Regions from separate parts of the Homo sapiens genome. Here all the other regions are linked to region 1. Evidence: promoter capture Hi-C in 16 types of primary human blood cells and fetal thymus (Javierre and others, 2016). All regions are on one chromosome and are shown on one strand. Each heading gives the region's core, a stretch centred on a gene start or on the middle of the fragment in contact. The rest is flanking DNA. Distances are from core to core; before and after follow the strand shown. Region 1 holds the start of DOCK8 (dedicator of cytokinesis 8). Region 2 holds the start of KANK1 (KN motif and ankyrin repeat domains 1). Region 3 has its middle 4.6 kb from the start of DOCK8-AS2.

Evidence for each region. The method cuts DNA at HindIII sites, captures the fragments that hold promoters and counts their contacts. A CHiCAGO score of 5 or more calls a contact.
Region 2: a contact is called between a fragment that was not itself captured here and the fragment with the promoter of DOCK8 in region 1, in 2 of 17 cell types (neutrophils and erythroblasts). The highest score is 7.2, in neutrophils.
Region 3: a fragment that was not itself captured here is called in contact with the fragment with the promoter of DOCK8 in region 1 in 1 of 17 cell types (neutrophils); the score reaches 10.6 in neutrophils.

What each region holds. Positions count from the first base shown.
Region 1 is chr9:213,287-216,114 of GRCh38, reverse strand. DOCK8 (dedicator of cytokinesis 8) reads right to left here and starts at 1,250. Exons shown (of 48, transcript NM_203447.4): 1 at 1,086-1,250. The coding sequence starts at 1,138. It overlaps DOCK8-AS1 (DOCK8 antisense RNA 1), which reads left to right and starts at 365. Exons shown (of 1, transcript NR_160804.1): 1 at 365-2,658. RefSeq lists silencers at 776-915, 1,086-1,135, 1,186-1,235, 1,246-1,495. The HindIII fragment of the contact is 3,855 bases long and covers 1-2,828 here.
Region 2 is chr9:502,003-504,830 of GRCh38, reverse strand. KANK1 (KN motif and ankyrin repeat domains 1) reads right to left here and starts at 136. Exons shown (of 12, transcript NM_015158.5): 1 at 77-136. It overlaps LOC105375947 (translation initiation factor IF-2-like), which reads left to right. Exons shown (of 4, transcript XM_047424276.1): 3 at 10-1,134. The coding sequence ends at 831. RefSeq lists a silencer at 11-500. The HindIII fragment of the contact is 4,681 bases long and covers 1-2,828 here.
Region 3 is chr9:473,270-476,097 of GRCh38, reverse strand. It overlaps a transcript of KANK1 not described here. Among named protein-coding and RNA genes, the nearest start is that of DOCK8-AS2, 4.6 kb to the right of the region's middle. The HindIII fragment of the contact is 1,445 bases long and covers 614-2,058 here.

The sequences.
Region 1 (2,828 bases), core at 1-2,500:
GGAAATAAAATCGTCAATAAAGCTCGATATGCCCTCTAGAAGACCTTATCGCCTTGTTTTTCTAGGCTTTTAATTCCTTGTTCAAACCTCTTCACACACTAACAGCACAAAGATGAACCTACGGTGGAATCCACCTTTCACAGGCTCAGCTAAGTGAAGATTAACAAATCGGACAGCCCTGTGGGCAATAGAATAAGTTGACACTTTAGAATGAGTTTCCTATTATCTTTTAACTAGACAGTCTAGCTTTCTCAGGGCAAGACAAAAATGTCCCAATTACTTGTCAGCAGTTTTTAGTGGAGGAAAAACTGCAGTTAAAGCACCTTTACTGAGAACTTTGAGCAGTAAATGTGCTTACATATTTAGTTTGTGCAACTTTGATTAGGAATTGGATGGTGAGTTGGGATCCCCCAGTCCTTAGCTTTTTGCTGGAGTTCTGTAAATCTCAAAATGTCAGCCACAGGCCATTTCTTTTGGTTTATTTAAGTGTAGATTTTTTAAAAAATCACTTTTTCCACTTCATGGCTCCTTTGGACCAGGGTATAAAAATAGCGATGCCACCAGGAGCCAAGCTCTTTCTGGAATAATGAAGCAGGCGAGGACGGAGCCTTGCTCAGGACGACAGAAGGCTTGCAGCCTGCCTCAAACGCAACTCTAATTTCAGCCACTTCACTTCTTCCCCCCGCGCTCAGACTTGCCTCAAAGGAAGGAGCCGTTTATGAGACACTCCGTGGCGCGCCCAACACGGTTACCCAGGCGCCTATCACCCTTCTGGGACCCGGCCACCTGTAAGAACCTGGAGGGCGGAGCGGGCGAGGTTGTTCGGGGAAGGGATCCCCGGCGGCTGAGGACATCCAGGAGCACCGAGATTCTTGGGGAGGACCTCGCCGGGCCCAGCGCAGGAGCCGCCGCGCGTCCAGCGGCTCCACCGCCGCAGCCTCGGGAACCGGGCGCCCCAGGTCTCAGGCGCGCCCCGCCGCGGACGCGAATGGACTCGTCCGGCCTCGGCCCCTGCAGCGAAGCTCCGCTTCACACCAGCGCTGGGCTGTCCGGCCGCAACCTGCGCGCCGCGGGGGGCGTCTTACCTGTTGATCTTGAGCGCGAACGCGCGGCGCTCTGCGCTCGGCAGAGTGGCCATGGCCCGCCGGCGGTTCGGTGGCTTCTAGGGTCGCGGGGTGCGGAAAGCGGGGGCCTGGCGCGCCGCAGAGTAGCCGCGGAACATGCCCAGCCAAGCGCAAACCTCGTCTGTCGGTCGGCGCTGGAAACTTCCGCATTTCCACCTTCTAAGCCGAAATCACCCCGGGGGAGGGTCCGAGCTCGGAGCAGCGACGGCCGGCTCCGCCACCCGGCCTGGCGCGCAGGCAGCGGCGGGCGAGGAGGGCGTGGGCCCAGCGCGGAACTGGCCTCCCGATACTGGGGCAGACGGCGCGCTCTGCCCGGGGCCGCCGACCTCCGGCCGAAGGGAGCGCGGGCGGACGACAGGCGACCACTGCGCGCAGGCCGGAAGCTCCATCTGCCCGAAGCTGCGAGGCTGCCAGGGAATGTAGGCAAGTCGGGGGAGCCCCACAAAGCTGGCGAGGTCGGGAATCACCCCAGGGATTCGTAAGGCTAGGTGTTATTAAGGGTTGACACCATTCTCGAAGAAGGCAGCCAAAAAAAAAGACAAAAAAGTTAGTGGAATCTATCAGGATTCAAATCAACTTTTGCAAGCAATATGCCCATCATCCTTCCTGAGACACTAAATAAATATAATGGATTCATCCAAGGAATAAACATTATGAGTTCTCAAAAAATGTTTTCGTCACAACCTGGCGTGAATGCTTTTCTCCGGAGAAACACTGAAGGCGGCGTTCTTGCGATTCAAGGGTACGCTGCGTCCAGGTTTATTTCAGTTTCAGACTGAGGTCTGCTAAGAAGCCCGGCCTCAAACTCAAGATAAAAACAGAAAAGTCCCAGTGTTGACGGGAGTGGAGGAGCCCGTGTTCGCTTCAAGGTGCCGGCGTGCTGCTCTAACCTGTGCTATATATACTCGAGCACTCTCCATATAATGCCTCCATTTACCAACTTGCTCTTAAAAAATACCAAAGCAGGCCGGGCGCGGTGGCTCACGCCTGTGATCCCAGCACTTTGGGAGGCCGAGGCGGGCGCATCACGAGGTCAGGAGATCGAGACCATCCTGGCCAACGTGGTGAAACCCCGTCTCTACTAAAATACAAAAAATTAGCCGGGCGTGGTGGCGCACGCCTTAGTCCCAGCTACTTGGGAGGCTGAGGCAGGGGAATCACTTGAACCCGGGAGGCGGAGCTTGCAGTGAACCGAGATCTGCCACTGCACTCCAGCCTGGCGACAGAGCAAGTCTCCGTCTAAAAGAAAAAAAAAAAAACAACCAAAGCGAAGTATTTTTGGTTCAAACCTGCACTATTTAATATGATAGCCACTAGCCACATGTGGCTATTGACCACTCGGCATTATGGTTAGTCTGAATTGCCCACTGCTGGATGTGTAAAATGTACACTGGAATTTAAAGACAGCGCAGAAAACATCGTGTAAAATGTCTTGTTAATGATTTTCATGTTGATTGCATGTTAAATGATACTTTGGATATAAAAAATATATTATTAAAGTTAATTTCACCTGTTTGTTTTCCCCTTTTAAAAATGTGGTTTGCATTTTTAAAAATGTAAAATTACACATGTGGCTCACATTTGTGAGCCTCATTATATTCCTATTGGACAGTGCCAGTCCAATACAACCTAATTTGTCACCTAATACTAAAATCCACCTAAGGACTATATTCAGTCTCTTCCTGATACAGCCTTCCTTCCTGG
Region 2 (2,828 bases), core at 135-2,634, 290 kb before region 1:
CAGGGGTAGGGGCCTCGCGCTCCGGGACAACCTCGCCGCGGCACGGGGCGCGGCACGGCCCCGCCGCGTCACTCACCTTCGGCCGCTCCTCCCAACCTGCCGGCCGCTCGCTCGCTCCGCCGCGGACCCGGAGCTCGGGGAAGGGCGGGGCGCAGGGGGCGGAGTCGGCCCCGGCTGGCAAGCGCCAGAATTAAAGCCCGAACCGCACGGCCGCCGCCGGGGCGGGGAAGCCGGGGCGGACCAGCAAGCCTCTCACCCGCGGTGGGCGACAGCTGTGGCTGCGCCCCGGAGCGGCGCGTGAGAAGAACGGCGCGGGCCGGCGAAGCCCCGGCTGCTCCCTCCGCCCAGAGGACGCCCGGCTCCCCGCGGGGGCGCTCTTTGTACCGCGGAGCCGGCCGCGGGCGGCCCTCAGTGCGCCTGCGCGCCGCTGCAACTCCACCAGGCCCGCGGGGCACCTTCGTGCACCTTCGTCGCCGCGCCTGGCCCGCGGGCCTCGCCGCGGCGAGAACTAAGCAGAAGAACTTCCTCCACCGCGGTTCGCTCCTTCTGCCAACCCGTATTTACCACGTCCATCCTCGCACACACACCCGCAAGGGGAGAAGAAATCCAGCCCCCGTGAGACGGTGCGGTGCTCCCATCTCCGGCTGGGGCGGGGGTTCTGGCAACGAGGCTGGCCTGCTCGACGTCCTCCCCCAGCGCCTCTGTACCTCCTCTCCCTCCCCGGGTGAGGGGGACCGGAGCGTGCAGAGCTCTGTTTCCTGCAGGTGCCTCGTCAGCACGGTCGCCCCGGCGGCCAGAAACCTCCCGCCTCCAAGGGCACCTCCCTTGTGACCTCCGTGCATTCGCCCTGGCTCGGCTGCAGGACAGAGTCCTCGGCGGAAAGGGGAGGATGCGTGTTCAGAAGGTTGCAGGTCTCTGGGGACTCCACAGAAGACCCAACGCCTGCCTCGGGGGCTCAGGATTGAACTGGCTTCCTAGTTCAGTCCCAAATACTCGATTTGGAGCAATCCAGTAGGTCCATGAGAAATTAGTAGGGATTGAGAAGCTGTGACTTCAGTCTTTTTCAAATTGAAGGTGGCTTGAACAAACAGAAGAGGAGCTTGGGAACTGAAGGGACGACTTTATAAAAACCAGGTATTACTCAAAAAACAATGTTAGCTCTGCAGTCAACTGATTTTCTTAAGGGAGAGAGTCCTCCCCTCACCCCCAAGCTCTCTAGCACCGCACACATCCAGCAGGGCGTTACACACGCTCAGTCTTTTTTGTGAGTGTGCAAGTGAAGAGCCATCAAACTTCACAAGGCGACATGCTTGCCTCTGGGGAGAAGACGCTGCTTTTCCACAGTTCACAGCGAAGCACACCTGCAAATTCCTGAACTTGATGGCTCCTGACTGTTTAGGGAATAGGCAAAGGGCAGCCGGAAGATATGTGAAGGCAGGAAAGCTCATTTTGAATCTCAGCGCCTTTGCCAGCTCACTGGGTGGCAGTAAGCAAACTCTTTCCTCCTCCTGGGCCTTGCTTTTTCGTCTGTAGAGTAGGGCATTTGGATGCAGTAGATATTTTCTAAAATCCCCCACCACCACCACCCCGCCCCAAATGTCTACTCTTCTATGAAAAGGAGAATTGTTTGCATGGTGATAAGGGATGAGATATCAGAGGCAGGAAGACTCCTGCATTTTAAAAGTGCTCGTCGGCCAGGCGCAGTGGCTCAGGCCTATAATCCTCACACTTTGGGAGGCCGAGACAGGTAGATCAGTTGACCCCAGGAGTTCTGGGCAATACAGTGAAATTCTGTTTTCACCAAAAAAAAAAAAAAAAAAAAAAAAAAATCAGCTGGGCGCGATGGCGCGCGCCTGTAGTCCCAGCTACTCTGGAGGCTAAGGTAGGAGGATCGCCTGAGCCCTGGAGGTCGAGGCGGCAGTGAGCAGAGATTGAGCCACTGCATTCTAGTCCAGGCTACAGAGTGTGACCCTGTCTCAAAAATAAATAAATAAATAGTGCCCTCGACCGGGTGCACTGGCTCACACCTATAATCCCAGCACTTTGTGAGGCCGAGATGGGTGGATCACTTGAGGCCAGGAGTTCAACACCGGCCTGGCCAACATGGTGAAACCCCATGTCTACTAAAAAATACAAAAAAATTCGCTGGGCGTGGTGACGTGCACCTGTAATCCCAGCTACTCGGGAGGCTGAGGCAGGAGAATCCTTGAACCCGGGAAGCTGAGGTTGCAGTGAGCCGAGATCATGCCACTGCACTTTGGCCTGGGCGACAGAGCACGACTCTAAGAAAAAAAAAAAAAAAGTGCTCTCCATCCCCAGAATTCCCAGCCTTCACCTCTCCTTTATTTCTCCCTCTTTGCATTTAGTCAGTAAACATTGATAGGCCCTCAAGAGTAAGCAAAACGAATCAATCAAAAGTATGGCAGATTCTGAATTTTTAGTGGATTTATACTTGAAATTTCATTTTTAATTTAGTTATTTTATTGACATACAATTCACATGCCATACAATTTACTCCCAAAATGTATAATTCAGTGGTTTTGAATATATTCCCAAAGTCACACAACCATCACCACTAATTCCAGACATTGACATCCCAGTAAGAAACCCCATACCCATTAGTCACTCCCCATTCCTCCCTACTCCCAGCCGCTGGCTACCACTAATTTACTTTCTGTCTCTATGGATTTGCTGATTCTGGACGTTGCATATAACTAGGAACATAACAACATGCTACTAGCTTCTTTCACTTAACATAATAGTTGCAAGGCTCATCCATGCTGTAGTATGTTTCAGTACTTTCTTCCTCCCCCTACCCATTATACCAT
Region 3 (2,828 bases), core at 87-2,586, 260 kb before region 1:
TGGATCACAGTGAGGCCAGGAGTTCAAGACTAGCTTGGTCAATGTGGCGAAAACTTGTCTCTGTTAAAAATACAAAAATTAGCCGGGTGTGGTGGCAGGCACCTGTAATCCCAGCTACTCGGGAGGCTGAGGTAGGAGAATGGCTTGAACCCAGGAGGCAGAGGTTGCAGTGAGCTGAGATGGCGACGCTACACTCCAGCCTGGGCAACAGAGTGAGACTCTGTTTCAAAAATAAATAAATAAATAAATAATTTTAAAAAGGTGCTAGACTCTTAATCTCTTCAGATGGGAGCGCCTGGAAGAAAAATATCTAGCTATGTTAACAGAGATTCTTTACAGATGCAAATTTTCCCCTACAAAGGATGGCTTTGCAGGGCCATTTCAAAATATGCCAAAGAGACATGTTATGGGATAAAATATTTTGATTTTGTCATGTAATATTATGCCAGAGTCAGACTAAAAAGTCACAATATATAGGGTTAAATAAAACCCATCTGATGAGAATTTTTGGTTTGTAGGGCATAACTCCCCAGACCCCCTAGATAGGAATTTGGAAGATAAGAAAAGATCAGAGCTTAGTCCTCAAGCAGGAGTGAAAATTTATTAAAAAGCTTCAGAGCAGGAATGAAAGGAAGTAGAGTATATTTGGAAGAGGGCCGAGTGGGCACCTTGTGAGATCAAGTGCACAGTTTGACCTTTGACTTGCGGTCTTACAGGTTGGCATACTTTCGGGGTCTTGGGTTACTTCTCCCAATTCTTCCCTTGGGGTGGGCTGTCCATATGTGCAGTGGCCTGCTAGCATTTGGGAGGGGAGCATGCACAGTGTATTTGCTGGAATGGTACAGATGCTTTCTTGAGGCTTTCTTCCCTTACCAGCGTAGCATTCCTACAGGAAGGTCATTTACCAATTAAACTCCGCCACTTTGCCTCTTAGTGCACATGCTTGAGCCCACCTGCCCAATTCCTGAGATCTTATTGTGAAGCTGCTGATTGTCACTTTCAGGTTTTTCCTATCTATTTGGAGACTGCCTTTCCCTGGTGCTGGCTGCAACCAGTTATTATTTGAGAGAGACGGTGTAACAACCATGTGACCATCACCTGATGGTCACCTGACATTCCTGGTCAGGGTGGGGGGCCCTCTCCTGCACTGCACATGTCTGCCTATCTACTGTAACAAGTACACCATCAGATGATTGCTAAGGTTTCTCCCAGTGTGAGGAGTCCTGAGAAAATGGTATTCTCAGAGATACTGAAGTGTCCTCAGGGAAAGTCTAGATGGCCTAGACAGCTTGTGGTGCTCCATTGTCACCCTGCCACCAATGTCTCCCTGCCTTTTCTCATCCTCTGATCTCCCCCTGCTCAACCCCATTTCAGGGGAGGAGGGAAGAAATATAGAAAAGATAATGAGGGAAAGTGGCCATGGGTAGTGAGAGGATGATGAAGTGGTAGATAATGGGAGAGTGGAGGGAAGGCATAGAAATTACACACATATACTTTTTTAGAGAAACGACACAGGGAAAAGATAGGGGGCATCAAAGAAAGAACATTTGCCTTCTTTTGTTCATCAAATAAAATAATCGCTGACATTTATTGAGCCCTTGTCCTAGGCCTGGCACCTTGTTCAGTTTTTCACATGCATCATTTCATTTAGCCCTCATACATCTCATTTTATAGATAAGTGAGAAACATACTTATGCAATTAATCAATATGTCCAATATCACTAATTAGTAAGAGACAGGACAAGGCATTGAACTTCAGCATCTTTGACCCCTGAGCTTGTACTTATAAATACTAGTCCATATGGCTTTCCTACCAGCATTTCCTCTGAGCCAGGGAATGTCACTATTTTCCTTATGGCCAACAGCATTTAGACTCAATGTCATTGCTGACCTACAGTGATGTGTTCATCACCATGGGCAGACAGATAGGCAGGTACCTATCCATACACTCACTCACCCACTGATGACACTCAGGAAGGCTTGGTAAAGACAAGTAAAGCCAATGAATATTATAAATAGATAGTATTTCTTGTGAGGAGCCATCATGTGGGGAAAGCTTCTTCATTAACTCTGGCTGAGTCTAATGTTGAAATTAATTCTTGGCTGGCACACTGGCTCACACCTATAATCCCAGAACTTTGGGAGGCCGAGGTGGGCAGATCACAAGGTCAAGAGATCGAGACCATCCTGGCCAACATGGTGAAACCCTGTCTCTACTAAAAATACAAAAATTAGCTAGGTGTGGTGGCACATGCCTGCAGTCCCAGCTACTCAGGAGGCTGAGGCAGGAGAATCACTTGAACCATGGAGGCAGAGGTTGCAGTGAGCTGAGATTGTGCCACTGCATTCCACCCTGGTGACAGAGAGAGACTCTGTCTCAAAAAAAAAAAAAAAATTCTTGTTCTTTCTGGGTGCAAGATAGTTCCTGAACACATACCCAGATGATCACAGGTGCCTGTGGTTTGTTGGGGGATGATATACACTAAAATAAGTGGTGAATACCCATAGCTAACCATAGCAAATTTTCTCAGTATTATACCTATCAGAAAACCCAAGTAAGCCTCATTGTAGGATAACTCTAGGTGACCCTCTAGGGATTATGGTTGATGATCACAGAGCTGTGATGTCATGATGTCCCATTAGGGGTCTTTCACCTGGTTATCATTTCTCTGCCTGATACTTCAACTGCAAATTTATGAGGAAATTTAGGAAAGACTGAATCAGACCCCTATCCAATAGTCTCCAAGCTGTGTGCACTTTCCTTGGATTTTCCTCTGTTTCAATGCAGGGATATTACATGGGTTTTGGAATCAGTCAGACTCACGTTC